Linked DNA regions of Homo sapiens: regions 1 and 3 are each linked to region 2. Evidence: promoter capture Hi-C in human tissues and cell types (Jung and others, 2019). All regions are on one chromosome and are shown on one strand. The core of a region is centred on a gene start or on the middle of the fragment in contact, and the rest is flanking DNA. Distances in the headings are between cores, read along the strand shown.

Evidence for each region. The method cuts DNA at HindIII sites, captures the fragments that hold promoters and counts their contacts. A contact is called where the count stands out against the background at its distance.
Region 1: a contact is called between the fragment with the promoter of TRPM2 here and the fragment with the promoter of PWP2 in region 2, in 3 of the 25 tissues and cell types used here (lymphoblastoid cells, spleen and thymus).
Region 3: a contact is called between the fragment with the promoter of DNMT3L here and the fragment with the promoter of PWP2 in region 2, in 2 of the 25 tissues and cell types used here (lymphoblastoid cells and mesenchymal stem cells).

Annotation. Positions count from the first base shown.
Region 1 is chr21:44,352,324-44,355,034 of GRCh38, reverse strand. TRPM2 (transient receptor potential cation channel subfamily M member 2) reads right to left here and starts at 1,414. Exons shown (of 32, transcript NM_003307.4): 1 at 1,170-1,414; 2 at 299-387. The coding sequence starts at 1,334. RefSeq lists enhancers at 939-988, 1,149-1,198. The HindIII fragment of the contact is 21,861 bases long and covers 1-2,711 here.
Region 2 is chr21:44,106,142-44,108,841 of GRCh38, reverse strand. PWP2 (PWP2 small subunit processome component) reads right to left here and starts at 1,443. Exons shown (of 21, transcript NM_005049.3): 1 at 1,408-1,443. The coding sequence starts at 1,425. TRAPPC10 (trafficking protein particle complex subunit 10) reads right to left here. Exons shown (of 23, transcript NM_003274.5): 23 at 2,290-2,700. RefSeq lists silencers at 1,407-1,790, 1,381-1,897. The HindIII fragment of the contact is 7,831 bases long and covers 1-2,700 here.
Region 3 is chr21:44,260,607-44,263,306 of GRCh38, reverse strand. It overlaps DNMT3L (DNA methyltransferase 3 like), which reads left to right and starts at 1,410. Exons shown (of 12, transcript NM_175867.3): 1 at 1,410-1,567; 2 at 2,041-2,153; 3 at 2,468-2,512. The coding sequence starts at 2,048. RefSeq lists an enhancer at 1,136-1,695. The HindIII fragment of the contact is 12,940 bases long and covers 1-2,700 here.

The sequences.
Region 1 (2,711 bases), core at 165-2,664, 250 kb before region 2:
CTGTGTTCACACCACTGGGCCTCGCCGCGCGACAGTGCCCTTATGACCCTGAACAAGTCACCTAAACTCTGCACTTTGGTCCCTGCACCTGCGAGGCAGGATGAGGGTCAACTGTCCCCGACAGGAGGCTTGCAAGGGTTAGGTGGAAATGCTCTGTGGACTCTAAGCCTCGTATGGAGACAGAGGTATCTCCAGTGACCCTTCACTGAGGCCCTGAGGGGTCTTGGCCTGATCAGCTACTCCATGTGGGATCGGAAGGAAGAAGTCAGAGGTCTTACACACAAATCACGTCACTTACCCAGCATCAGACAGTTTGGAACTTTCCACAAAATACACGCATTCTTTCTTCTTGATGTTTTCAGGAATCCACGAACTGAGGCTTTCTTGCTGAAGGTAAAGACAGCACACTGAGATCTTCCAACATTCGAAAGAGCACACCCAGCCCCCTGGAGACACATCTGAGCTCCTTGAGGAGCTTTCACACTATTTGCTTGAAGGAAGGAAGCCTGCGCGACCCTGAGCCAAAGATTAGAAGCACCTTGCCAAGACTCTCCGGTGGGGATTCAGGAGGGAGGAATGAATCTAAGAAATCATTTCCTCTTGGGACCATTTTGAATGTGCGCGCACTTTACAGTTTCTACAGCACCACCACCTTCCTTGGGAACAACATGGTGTGGTGGAAAACGTGGAGGCTGGGGATCTGGGGACCTGGATCTTGCACCATCGGAAAAAGGGCAGCCACCCTCCTGCCTGCCTGGCAAGGGGACTGCAAGATGCCATGTGCTTTCAACATACTTGTGTCTTTGTATCCAGGGCTTTGGGGAAAGCTAGCCCAGGCCCAGGCCCTCCCAATCGGATAAAGGATGTGAAATCATTATGCAACAAGGTAAGCACGGGTAACAGATTTCCAGGACTCTAGCGCAACATTTTTGAGTTAACCCGGTGATTTCCCAATCAGACCAACCATGGGAAATGGTCATGCAACCCACAGAAGACGAGACACGCATCACCCTCCCCAGTTCTGTTCTCCCAAAGGTATGGTTGGGCAGGAGCCCCCAAGGTCAGCAGACCCTTTCCCACCCCCGTCGTCACAGCCTCAAGCTATGACCTGCCCAACGGTGACCTCCGTGGCCACGTGCCAACTGCAGGCTGACCAGCAGAAAGCCTACCTTGTCATTGTTGCCGAAGGGGCACTGTAGCCTCCAGCTCTTGAAGAGGCTGCTGTTGCTGCGCCGGAGATTGGAGACCATCCCCAGGTCAGTGACCCTTCTGGGCAGCCCCTCAAAGCCCTCCTCCTGCTCCGAGCCAGCTTTCCTCAGGGCTGAGGGCTCCATTCTGAGACCCCCACGCCAGCTGCAACCAGGCCTGCTGCCCTCAGGACAGTCCTCTCTCCAGCTCGCTACACTGGGGTTCTAGAGACACATGGGGTGGTTGCTGAAATAGATCAGAGACAGGAAGATGAGGCTGATGTTCTGAGAGGACCTGGCCACATGCTTCCTCATGTGAAGCCCTCATCCGGTTCTCTTCATCAGCCTGCACATGTTCCCAGCTGCCTGAGCTGTGTCCCTTGGCTGGGGCCCCCGGACACTCTGGGGGAGTACATGCACATGCGGGGGTCCCAGCGGCCGTTCATAATGGTAACAACCTCAGGTGACTGCAGGGCCAGAGAAAGAGCTCCCTCCCCCACGGGTGCAGCTGCACTGAGCACCGCACAGGGAAGTCTCCACCGCCAGCACCAGCTGCCAGCGACATGGTTTCGCAACTGTACAATTCTGCACAGCTCCTGCTTCCAGACACCAGTGACTACTTTCATATTCCAAAATTTTTTTAAATAGCCCTCACTGTCCACAAAGGAAGTTTCTTTTTCTTCTTGTTTTTTGAGACGGAGTCCCACTTTGTCGCTCAGGCTGGAGTTCAGTGACGCAGTCTCGGCTCACTGCAACCTCGGTCTCCCTGGTTCAAGTGATTCTCCTGCCTTAGCCTCCCCAGTAGCTGGGATTATGGGCGCCAATCACCACACCCTGCTAATTTTTTTTGTATGTAGTAGCAACAGGGTTTCACCATGTTGGTCAGGTTGGTCTCAAACTCCTGACCTCAGGCGATCCACCAGCCTCCGCTTCCCAAAGTGCTGGTTTTACAGGCGTGAGCCACTGTGCCCAGCCTAGAAAGGAAGTTTTGGGGAGTACCACATCTCTCCACTCCAGGAAAAAGACAATAATTCAAATGAATCTTTTTCTCTCATATCCTTTCCCCCTGGCTCTGATGTGGCCTTCATCACCGAGGCCACAAGAAGCCACCGGATGACTGCCCTCCCTTTACAAATGAGAAACATAAGCATGTTCAAGCCCTGCGGGGCCTCCCTGAGTCCCTGACACCCACAGTGTTCTCATGAGGTCATCCATGGTCATCCCCTGCCACTGCCCCAAAGGTGTCAAGGGGAGGGTTGCTGGGATGCAAAAGATCTGACTGGAATCCCCCCTCATCCCTGCCCTGAAACCAGATCTCTGGCCACGTCCTCTCCACTACACACGACGGTCACTGTCAGACAAGCCTTTGCTCTGCCGTCCCCTCATCACATTAGGTGACTGAGCCCCTCTTCGGGGCCACGCAGCTCGAAGCTCGGTGCCGGGCTCTTGGGGCTGAGCTACGGGCTGCTGTCCTGGGGCGGGCACTCTCAGGCAACCCCACCTCCCCCTCTCCCTCCTCCCCTT
Region 2 (2,700 bases), core at 194-2,693:
AGTGAGCCTGATCCTCAGGAGACCAGAGGAGCCCGGGCGGCCCCAAGCTCCCACAGAGATGGGTAAGATGCCCCTGTGAGCACTGAGGAAGCCTCCCAAGACAGGAGGCGTCTGCCAGGTGAAGAGGGGCATGGAGCCCACACTTCACCAAGAAAAAAGCTGCAACAATGGAACAGCACCCCAAAAGTGCTTAGAACTCAGGGCTTCCAGAAGTGTGGTAAGCCAGCATCCTATTTACTAACTCACGAGCACGAGCGTTCACTGGAGACTGCCATGCGCACAGACACGCACACCTTATATTCTCTCTCTAGCAGGAGGGGGATGAGAAGTGTGGGAGCAGGGGCTACTTTAGACGGTGGTCACGGAGAGGCACCTGGAAGGGTCACCTGAGCTGGAATCTAAATGGGAAGGCACCAGCCAGGCCCTGAAGCTGTGAGTGGGCAGCGCCCTCAGGACCTCAGGGAGGAGCTTGGTCAGCAGAAGGACTTTAAGCGGCCAGGCAGGCTCCAAGGCACATTTTTTGCCACCTTGCAGTAGGAATGTGGAGCGGATGAAGTCCTGGCCTGTGAGGACGTGGATATGGTTTCTGGTTTGGTGCTGGGCACACAGCGGTGGCTCCACCAGCACAGGGGACACAGGAGCAGCACTCTGAGGGGCCAGTACCATGCCCAGTTTCGGACAGGACAAGTGTAGTACACGGTGGGCTCAGCAGCAGGCGGCCCGTGCAACCCTGGAAGCGCAACGGTCAGGGCCACTGTGGGAAACACAGGCGTCCCCATAACCGGCCAGCTGTAGCAAACGCTTCAGAGACCCCCAGGCCGGCTCCACGGCCCCCTCTTATTACCTGTCTCACCCGCCTCCTGCACTTCACATCTGGGACAAGTCTTCCCTGGCTCTCAAAGCTGAGGGCGTCCGCCTCAGGAATTCCCTCCGGCCTCGGGAAACAGAGCTCACACCTGGGTTCCCCGCCCTTCCGCTCACCTGGACGCTCGCTCGTTAGGGACCAGTCCCGGGCCCCGGGTCCCTGCTGTTCTCACCCCGCCTGCGCGCGCCCGCGTCCCCGCCCCGTCCCACCTCCTCATCCCTCCCGAGGGTGCTGTGCCCTCCCCGACTGCACCAACTCCAGCCTTTAGGTTGGGCCATACTCAGGTTAAAAATATCCCGGGACCCCGACAAATGTCCCTGTTCCCTCCGAGAAGCCGTCGGCGCCTCCGTCCCAGCTCTCCCAGGAGCCCCACCACAGCCCCGCGTCCCCGAGGCCACGGGCGCGCAGACAGCCGGCGACCCCCACGCGGCCAGACGCCGCAAAAGCAGACCACGCGCCCCCAGCCCGCCCGGAGCCAGCTCAGGCGCCGTCCACCGGAAGAGCCGCGCCGATCCAACAGACCGCCCGCCGCCCGCGCTCACCCGGTAAGCGAACTTCATCACGGCCGTCGCACGTGTGCCGCAGCTCAACCCGGCGGCCGCCCACAGAGACACTTCCCGGGGGTCCGCGCGGCACCGCCCACAGCACGCACTTCCGGGAAGCGACGGCGTGCACCGCCCACAGCGCGCGCGCCCGGGACGGGGTCGCGCACCACCGTCCGCAGCGGCCCAGGAGGCAGGAGGAGCTGCGTCGCCCTCGCCCCGCCCCGAGGCGGAGTTTGAACGCGAGGCCCAACCCCTCCCAAGGCGGGGGCCTTCTCCGGGCCCCGCCCACACCCCGGAGCCACACTGCAGGGCGCCTCTTAGGCGCGCTCCAGCGCTGGGCGCGCTCCGCACGGACGCCCAGCCTGGCACAGCAGCGTCCACAACATGAGAGCGCTGCACACCCAAATGTCTTCGTTCTTGTGAACTGTTGGGTAAGGAATTATGAATAAAGTCCCGAATGCTGGCCGGTGCGGTGGCTCACGCCTGGGAGACTGAGGCGGGTGGATGACCTGAGGTCAGCAGTTCGAGACTAGCCTGGCCAACATGGTGAAACATCATCTCTACTAAAGTATAAAAATGAGGCGCATGCCTGTAGTCCCAGCTACTCGGGAGGCTGAGGCAGGAGAATGGCTTGAACCTGGGAGGCGGAGGCTGCAGTGAGCCCAGATCGCGCCATTGCACTCCAGCCTAGGCAACAGAGCATGACTGTCTCAGAGAAAAAAAAAAAAAAAAAAAAAAAAATAATCCGAATGTTTCCCAAAAGGCAAATAATCTATGCCCAAGAGTCAGGAACAAGGACTAGGGAGATAAAACAATAAAATCTTCACATTACATACTGTTGTCACACCATGTCGCAGCAAAAGATCCAGTGCAAAATAGTTTCTTCTTAAAATGTGTATTTTCAGAATTACAATGCTTACATTTTAAAGTCTTAATACAATGGTTTTAATCTAACAATATATTACATAATATGAAAAATGACTTTTCATAGTAAACCATGAAAATGGAATACCTGCAGTGTCAAAGTCACCAACTTGTCACCTTTTCCAGTCACAGAATCCCAACACATTGTATTAATGATGACTGGGGGGGGTCTTACAGCCTGATGTATATAGGATGAATAAATGTAGAGAAAGGAGCATTTTCATGAAAAATAAAATTTAAAAACCAGGTAGGATTTATTTTAAAGAACACAGTTGAAAGTAAAACATTTACATCAGCCCAGTTTGCCCTTTTGTAAAAAGTAGTATAGCTTTTCATTTTATATACAAACCTGCAGTGTCTGATTTC
Region 3 (2,700 bases), core at 161-2,660, 150 kb before region 2:
ACTTCAGGGGGGTTACCTCCCGCAAGGGTCTTCTCCCACTTTCGACCAGCACAATTGTCCTGTGGCTCCAGCCCTGCCCGGCGGTCCTCCGCCCCCTGCTCTGAAGCCCCTAACCTCCCTCCAACAAAGTCCCCCTTCCCAACCCACCCCGCACCTCCCACACTGCCCCTCTGCCCACCCCACCTTCCTGCTCCCTTCCCTGCTTCCACGTTCCACCCCCACCCTGAACCTACCCCTCCCAGCTCCCCAACCCCCCACCTGCCCTGACATTCCCCACCCAACACCCCTTACCCCATCCTCCAGGGCCTTCCCTGTTTCCTTCTCTCCCCCACAGCTGCCCCCCAAACCTGGGGCTCCAGACTGAGCTCCCAAGCCCGGCTCCTGAACGCCCCTCCCTCTATCCCGCCAGAGGACCACCTCCCCTGAACACCCCCATCTCCTCCTCACCATCTACCCCCACCCCCACTCCCATCCCAACCGACCCTGAGATCCCTGAGGCCCATCCCCACCCCATTCTCACCCCTATCCTGCCCTAAAGGCCACCTCCCCTGAAACCCCCATCCTCGGCCTCACACCCCCATTCCTACTTTCACCCCGTCTCTACCCTTGCCCTGAGCCCCGACCCCCGCCACTGAGCCCTGCCCCGGAGTGCCCACCCTCACCCTATCATCACCCCCATCCCGCCAAAGGACCACCTCCCCTGAAGGCCCCCATCTCCAACTCAGCATCCACCCCCACCCCCACTCCCTAATCCCCCAACAGATCTCCCTAAGCCCCGCCCTCCACCCACCCACCCTGCCCTGAGGGCCACCTCCACTAATCCTCACCCATCTCCACCCAGGGGGCCAACTCCACCTAACCCCCCGCCCTGCCCTACCTCCACCCTCCACCCTCCACCCTCCACCCCTCCACCCCTCCACCCTCCACCCTCATCCCTTTCTTCACCCTTGCCCTGAAGCCCACCCCTATGACCTTCCTAAACCCCACCTCTGAGCGCCCTGCCCCTACCCCACAGCCACCCCTATCCCCCACCCCACCCCAAGGGCCCCCCTCTACTGAAACCCCCCTCATCTGCCCCATCCCCAGTCCTCCCATCTCCACCCCTCCCCTGAACCCCACTCCCCACTGAGGTCCCCAAACCCCACCCCTCACTCCACCCTGAGGGCCCCATCCTCTGAACCCCAATCCCCCAGCCCCACTGAGCTCTTAACCCTCCCCACCTGAGGGTTCCCTTTCCCTGCCCGTCCCCCAGCTTCCTAGCTCCCCACCCCAAGTGACCCCCCGCAGCTCCTCGCCCCTCCCACTGCAAACCGGCACTGAAGGGCTGCCCCGCCCCCGCCCCTCCCCGCCCCCGCGGGACACGCCCAGATTCTTTGCCCCCATAGCCTGGTGACCTCTGGCCACCCGCTGTCCCAGGTGGGCCTGGATCCTTCCAGCTCATTCTTTGCCTGCGCCGTCCCTCGTTCCATGGCCCAGTCCTCCCCGGGGACCCTGAGCCTGGAAGCCCCGGACCACTGGAACCTTGAACCCACCAGCTGGCTGTACCCGGAGCCGTGGCAGCAGCCCTGTGAGTCTCTTTCCTACTCCCTGACCATGCTGCCTTCAAGGGTGCGGCTGGCCAAGACCATCCCCAGGGGTCCCTGCTGGGCCTGAGGGACACTGTAGGAGGCTGGGGCATGGGAGTCCCTGAGGGGTCGAAGGCTGGGCCCAGAGGAAAGCAGGGGCTGCAGCGGCCATTGGCCCCAGGTCCTCATGAGGGCCCTGCCCTCCCCTTTTTGCCCCATCTTCCATGTTGTAACAGGGCCAGGCAGGTGGGGGGCACGCCTCAGGGGACCCTTGAGCCCCTCTCAGGGCTGGCACTGGCCTTGGCTGTCCTGCCCCTCATCCCTGGGTTGGGCAGGTGGGTGTCACCGCGGGGGTTCAGGTGGCCTGAACTAGTCAAGGTCTGCTCAGCAAGCTGCTTCCCGTGCTGGGGTGCATCAGGGATCTGAGCAGGGGCTGACGGCTTTCTCACATCTGTGTCCGTGTGTCCTGACACAGCATCCCCATGGCGGCCATCCCAGCCCTGGACCCAGAGGCCGAGCCCAGCATGGACGTGATTTTGGTGGGATCCAGTGAGCTCTCAAGCTCCGTTTCACCCGGGACAGGCAGAGGTGAGGGCTCATCTGCTTATTGGACCAGTCACTTAGGATGCTGATCCCAGGCCTGGATGAGGTCTGGAGTTCCAGGCTTCTGGAGTATTCATGCATTATTCAGGCACCCGGGCTGGGGCAGGAGGTTCCCCACCCACAGTCTTCCCCCAGGTATGGGCGTTTAACACACCAAGATAAGGTGTGAGGGCGGGATGGCAGGGGACCTCAGGCTCCTGTGACTTTGGAAAACGAATTGTGATGCTCACTTCCTGGCCGAATTTAAATTAAGAGATCAGAGGAAGAAGAAAGGGGCTACTTCTTATCTTCCTTTCCAGATCTTATTGCATATGAAGTCAAGGCTAACCAGCGAAATATAGAAGGTGAGTGTTTGCATACTGGCCCACACCAGACAAAAGAGACGGGGCACAGTGGCTCACACCTATAATCCCAGCACTTTGGGAGACCAATGTGGGAGGATCATTTGAGCCCAGGAGTTTGAGACCAGCCTAGGCAACATAGTGAGACTCTGTCTCTACAAAAAAATAAAAATAAAAATTAACCAGGCATG